Linked DNA regions of Homo sapiens: region 1 is linked to region 2. The links are contacts of gene promoters, found by promoter capture Hi-C in blood cells and fetal thymus (Javierre and others, 2016). All regions are on one chromosome and are shown on one strand. The core of a region is centred on a gene start or on the middle of the fragment in contact, and the rest is flanking DNA. Distances in the headings are between cores, read along the strand shown. Region 1 overlaps LOC105378797 (a long non-coding RNA gene). Region 2 holds the start of NEGR1 (neuronal growth regulator 1).

Region 1 (3,277 bases), core at 712-3,211, 350 kb after region 2:
GAATAAAATGTATGCATTTTTCCTAGATCCATGTGATTTATTTGGAAATCAGAAGGCCTGCTTTTATGTGATTCTTCTATTTTAACTACCACCTATTCTACTGGAGATCTCTAAAATGAGTACTAAAAGAAAGGAACATAATCTAGAATACAAGTCGTTTACTCACTACTGGGCATTTCTTTGCATGCTTTTAGTCACTGTTACTTTTAACTTGCTCAACTCAGCTTTGGAAATAGAGTAAGGTAAACATGATATCCCTTTTCCAGGAACTTGAACAGCTAAATAGTCAAATGGACAGCAGCTGGACCATATATTAAACTAGAATTCTGACTCACACCTTCAGCAACCAGCTCAAGAAGCCAAATCACCTCTTCTGTAGTCTTCAGCCTCAAACAGTCAGTATTTGATCAGATCAATAGCTGACAGCTTTCTCAATTTTTGTTGCTACTTCCACCTTAGGACTAACCAGAGAAAACCAAATAGATCTCATTTAACCAATGACATAGAACGCTCTACTTTTAGTTAATCCATTTCCAGCCTCCCTATGCCAACATCCCCAGTCAAAGCATACCTGAATCCTTCCTTTTTTTTTCCTACTGTAAAGCTTTCCCACTCCTCTGCCTGGCATTGAGTCTGTGCCAAATGTAAGTAATGCTGGCTTACTTCCTTGCCGTAGCAAGTAGTGAATAAATAGCATTTGCTCATTCTCTTTTGGGTAGTCTCAGTTTATTTCCACAAGCTTACAGCACAGCAGGAATTACAGTCCTAAACAGGGCAATTACATGTGTGATACATCATGGAAAAGAGAAACTGTGCCTGTAGATGAGAACACAGCCTAGGGTTTAGGTGAAGAGAAAAGGCATCGAATACAAGAGTATAAATGTTAAAGCCATAAAAATGTTATATTTTATTAACATATTCAGTTAAGAAAAGGCCCCCCATTTAAATTTCATAGAGCTTCCTTTCTATTATTTACTTGTTTGTTTTGGCAAGAATTTATGACATCTTTATGTACTATGAAAACTGGCATTGTTTCTAACCTTCTCATACATACTAGAAAAAAGAAGTTGGGGCATATTTTATCCATTAATTGCTATTATTTTATTTTACTTCATCCCACACTTAGATTATGGAAAGAAGGAAAAAATAATAATAGCTGTGGCATACCAGTCTAGTGCCAGACACAGGGATAAGGTTGACACCACGCTGAAGAAATAATGTTATCTCCATTTTATCAATGAAGAAACTGAGACACAAAGAACTGAAATAACTTGTCCAGGGTCACACAACTAGCAAAGTGTTTAATCCAAATCTAAACATATGTCTCTCTAACTGTACATCAAGGTTTCCCAACCTCCTCTGTCCTATTGACATTTTGGGCTGTGTAATTCTTTGTTGTGCTATCCTCTGCATTGTAGGATGTTTAGCAATATCCTTGGCCTGTGTCCACTAACTGCCAGTTGCACTCTGCGGTCATGACAATCAAAATGTCTCCAGACATTGCCAAATGTCTCTGGAGAGAGAAAAAATGCCCCTGGTTGAGAATCTCTGCTGTAGATCAAATATTCTACTTGTTAGTTTTTCATTAGCTAGCCTAATCTTTCATAATTTATCGTTTCCATAATATATTGTCAGCAACTTGCAGCGCACGCGCGCGCGCGCGCGCGCGCACACACACACACACACACACACACATACACACACACACCACCTCCCTCATTTCCCTAACCTACTGTTAAACTCCCTAACGAAGTTAGAAGTGATTTATTTTCAGCACGGGATTCTCTTTTATTTTTGCAATTGTGGTTTTGGTGGTTGACATATTTAACAAAAAAACCCTGAAGGAAATTCTGACAAAAGAACTGATTGTTGTCCTCCCAGTTGTTTGAGAAGGAACCTAAATATATGACCAGCTTCCTAATGATCATTTCGTTGTTCTTAGACCTTTAAATTAGTCCAGCAGCCTTGCTTTCTGTCGCTATGCCACAGGGTTCTCACCCTCCCTCCCTTCTTTGTTTTTACTTCTCTCTCTCTTCCTCCTTTGTTCTCTTTACTTTCCCTCCTTTCTTCCTCTATCCATCTTCTCTATTTTCCTGTTGTCTTTCATCTCTTCATCCCATTTCTCCCGCATCCTTTAGAACTCATAATACTAAAATATACATATTTTAAGATCTTCCTCTCTGTATCTTTCTGTCTCTGTCTCAATGTCTCTCTGTTTCTGTCTTTGTCTTTCTCTGTTTGTCTCTCTCTCTCTCTGTCTCTCTCTCCTGCCTTTCTCTCTCTCTTTTGCCTTTGTAGCTCCCTGCCAGTACAGCTGTCCCATACAGCCTTTGATGCTACTCTGTTATCTTTGGCACCAGCTCACAGGCTCCGCAGGGCTGAAGCTGGAACTCTTCCATCTCATCTCCTTTCTTTTGTCCTGCAATATGGTTATCCTGGAGGCCACTCAGCTGCCTCCCAACATTAGAGTTAGGTGACAAGAACAGGGAATAGACTCTCTGAAGCTAGAGGTAAGCGGCTGAACATCTTATAATAGTGAACACCTTTGTTGTTGCTAAAACTCTTTTCTAAACACATGCATGGGGTATTTTGAAATGAATTTTGGCATCTCTCATTTTTCCCTCAGCAAGCTGTGGTATCTGGCAGTGTTTTTCAAGAAAGTACTTACCTTTGATAATCAGACTGAGTTGAAATTATCCTGATTTCATTGTACTACAGACTTGAAGCAACATATTTTCCAAATTCCATGGGGTGAGCCAAATATTTTCAACTGCACAATAATGTTGAGCTGAATAAAAGGTTATGAAAAACCTGAAATAATGCATTTCTTTGGAATAATTCAACACTGCTTTAAGCCTACTTTCTTCTTTTAAGAACTCATTTCCTATTTAGAGCTAAATGAAAGTATATATTATCTCTGAACCTTGGACAAATTCTTTGGGGAAAAAAAAAAAGAATTGACTCTGATTTTAGGGTAGACAGTGCAGATCAAAGACCATGGATTCATTTTGGCCGATAACATCCTAACACTGATTCAGAATTGGTTAAGATGATTTGGAGGCATAGAAGTGTTAAAATTATATACTGCTTCAGTTCTACATTATAGTAAGAAGTTCCTGTGGAGAAAAATCTAATTTTAAGCATACCATGATTTTCCTGCATAAACATGAGGAGTTAGGAGCTCAAAGCTTTTCTTTAGAACACTGCTTGTACAAAAGATCTTTATCTGGTTCATTCTTGTTTGGTGTTATTCTGTGCGGAAAACCATGTGCTACAC
Region 2 (3,115 bases), core at 601-3,100:
AGTGTATATTAAAAAATACGATAGTATTCCAAATTTGAACTCATAGGCATGTTCCAAAAGGTGTAAGTCATATACCACACCCACATCATTAAATTTAAATATGTTGCATGTTTCAAACAGAAACATTTCCCACTCTCTTTCACCTTAGACATGTCATGTACACTGATGTTGTGCAAGCCAGACTTACAAGCCAACTACCACCCAGTGGAGAAAAAGAAGATCTTTCAGGGAAATGTGAGGTGGGGTGGCAGGGGGAGAAGGGAGGGTGATGGGAAAGAAATGAAGGAATAGGGCGTTTAGCTTTGTTTAGATCTAAGCTTTGCTGATCATCCATTTATATTTTCATAGGAAATAAAATATTCCCAGACTCCCACTCTGCAGTGTTGCTTAGGGGTAAAATCAGGGTATGGATGTTTATTAATGACAAACCACCTCAGAGCTCAAGCTCAGAGGAAAGAAGGGAAAATGAGAAAAATAAGTAAAAGTGAAGACTGATGGAGGGAGGAAGGTAGGAATAAAAAGGGGATAGAAAGACACAGAAAGAGAAAAAGAGAGAAGCAGAGACAGAGTGAGAGCAGCGAGTGAGACAGGCAGTGTGTACACATGTGTGAGTGACAATGTGGAACAGAGAAGGAGAGTATGCCTTTTAAAAACAGTGAGAGACAATCTGAATGTGGAAGTGGTTCTTACAGCATGGAAGTGCCAGTGCATGTGAGGATGTGAGAGTATGTGAGTTAGTATGTTTATGGAAATAAGATTTATGAGGGTGAGTAAATGGTACTGGAGGGGAACAGTGACCATGCCTGTGTGTGCCACAGGGGTGGGAAACGGTATGGGGAGAGGGATGAGAAATGGGAGTCAAAAGAGGGAAGACAGGGCACAGGATAGGGACATTAAGGAGGAATAAAAAAAATAGACAAAAAGAAAAAAGGGTAAAAGAGAGGAGGAAAGGGGATTAAATGTGAGGAACAGAAATTAGAGTCGTGGAGATAAAAATGAGAAAATATGAGAAGAAATTTTAAAAAGGAGGGAAAAAACAGAAAATAGAAAAGGTATGAAAAGAGATATTGGAGGGAAAAAGAGTTACAAGGAGGTGGGGAAAATGGTATAAGAGAATGAGGAAGGAGAAAAGAAAGAAAACAGAAAGCGGTAAAAGGAAAGAAAGATAAAGAGCAAGAAATCGAGCCTAAGTGTCCAAGTGAGAGGGAAAATAAATGGGAGCAGAGAACAGCAGTTTGAAAGAGTCGCTTATGCTGGAGTAAAATAGAAACAAACCTGATAAACTTGTCAGACTCTCCAGGAGTACCCCATGACAGTAAAACAGAGACCTTGTGCATTGAGTTTCAAAGTGGCACCTGCCCCTCCTTCTAAACCTGACAGTTCACTCATCCCCAGGCTACTTGGCGTTCCGGCAAAGTGCTTTAGCATCACGAGTCCAGCTTGCTACCTGCCCCAGCATAAACGGGCCGGGGCTCCGGGAAGAATCTGCACCTGGAATTCTTGGGATGTGGTCTTTCCATGATGAGCACCACCAGCATTATTGCTTGTGTTATAAAGAAGGCAAAGAGGGTTCAAAGAGAGACAGAAAGATAGACCGAAACAAGTACGAAAAGCACGCCGTTCTTCCTACCTAAGCACCGCCGTGTCCCCTTTTCTGACCATCATGTTGTCCACGGCCGCCCAGGGGAAGTCCACACTCTGTCCAGCCGGGAGGCAGGAGGGTAGCAGGCAGCACAGGCTGAGGAGCACCGCCGCCAGCCACTGGTTCGAGCAACAAGCACCCTGCACCAACAGCATCATGTCCATCCCTGCTAGGGCTGCTCACTCTCCAGCAGCTTTCAGCTCGCACTCCCCCACCCCCTGGTGCTGGCGAGTCTTCCCGGGAACCAGGCGGCGCGCCACAGGATTTTTTTTTTTTTTTTTTTTTTTTTTTTTTTTTGGTGGGTGGGTGGGTTTCTTTTCTTTCTTTCTTCCCCCCACCCCAGTTGTTGGGTGTTGTTTCTCTCTTTTTGTTTTTCGGTGTTTTTGCCTCCCCTCCTCCTCTTCGCTTTCCCTCCCTCCCTCCCCTCCCTCCCCCTGGCACCACACTACACCTCCTCTCGGTTGCTTTTGGCCGCGTCCGGAGTGTGTCTAATTCTCGGGCGGCTCGCACACCATCTAGCGAGGAGGCGAGCGCGCCGGCGAGTGAGGGAGGAGGCGCGGCGGCGGGGGAGGAGGCAGGGCGAGCGGCGGCGGCGGCGGCTGCAATCCCAGCAGCAGCAGCAGCAACAGCAACAGCAGCAGCAGAAGCAGCGCGGAGCGCTGCGCCGGCCGCCGGCTCCCGGGCTCGCGCGCGTTGCCAAGCGGCCGTTTCCTTAGCAACCCCGCCAGGGGACTGGGGATGGAGAAGGGAGGGGGATTAAAAAAATAATAAAAAAAGAAAGAAAAAAGATAGCAAGAAAAAAAAAAGAAAAGCAAGACAACGAAAAAAAAAATAGGAGGAACTGTATCACAATTATGCAAACTAAGGGGGAAAGAGAGGCACCTTAGAATGAAGGCTCTCCTTACTGTCGTAAGCGCTAGAGGGATTCTTTGCTAGAAAAGTCTCCGTGTCAGGGCTGGGGTGAAGAGAGCTGAGGGGCGCTTTGCCTTCCCTCACCGGTGCGTTTTACCTCTCGAGGCACCGTAAGTTTGAAGTCCTCCAAGTTGTGGTCGGCGCCATCATGACGCCGGCGACTGTGAGTTGTTTTTTTGTTTATTTTCTTCTAATCTTGCCTGGGTGGCTACGCTGCAGTTAGCGAGCAGCCAACTAGTTCTCTCTGCGTTTTCTCGGGAATAGGTAGGGACGGTGGCGGGGCGCTGCTTTTTTGCGGGGACACGAGGAGGTGCAAGGCCTTGCGGCAGAGCAGCTTGCGTGTTTGTGGCGGTCGGCCCGTATGGATTGCAGGACGCCCCTCTTTTATCTGTGGGTGTTGACACTAAGTTGTGTGTGTGAGTAGGGGATTGTTTATGGTCAACATGGAGTGTGTGTGTGATAGAGAGCGTGTCGTGCGCGCGGGGGCCTGTGCACGCGCGGCACGCAGGCGCGCTGGGAGGGACGGGGCGGGTCATGCTGGGATGTAGAGTCGGGAAAAGA

The links. The method cuts DNA at HindIII sites, captures the fragments that hold promoters and counts their contacts. A CHiCAGO score of 5 or more calls a contact.
Region 1: a contact is called between a fragment that was not itself captured here and the fragment with the promoter of NEGR1 in region 2, in 1 of 17 cell types (monocytes). The highest score is 6.3, in monocytes.

Annotation. Positions count from the first base shown.
Region 1 is chr1:72,634,466-72,637,742 of GRCh38, forward strand. All of the region lies in intron 3 of LOC105378797 (a long non-coding RNA gene), which reads left to right. Among named protein-coding and RNA genes, the nearest start is that of LINC02796, 130 kb to the right of the region's middle. The HindIII fragment of the contact is 2,449 bases long and covers 738-3,186 here.
Region 2 is chr1:72,280,689-72,283,803 of GRCh38, forward strand. It overlaps NEGR1 (neuronal growth regulator 1), which reads right to left and starts at 1,851. Exons shown (of 7, transcript NM_173808.3): 1 at 1,631-1,851. The coding sequence starts at 1,806. It overlaps LOC105378797 (a long non-coding RNA gene), which reads left to right and starts at 2,246. Exons shown (of 6, transcript XR_947506.3): 1 at 2,246-2,717. RefSeq lists silencers at 2,038-2,097, 2,198-2,287. The HindIII fragment of the contact is 3,164 bases long and covers 316-3,115 here.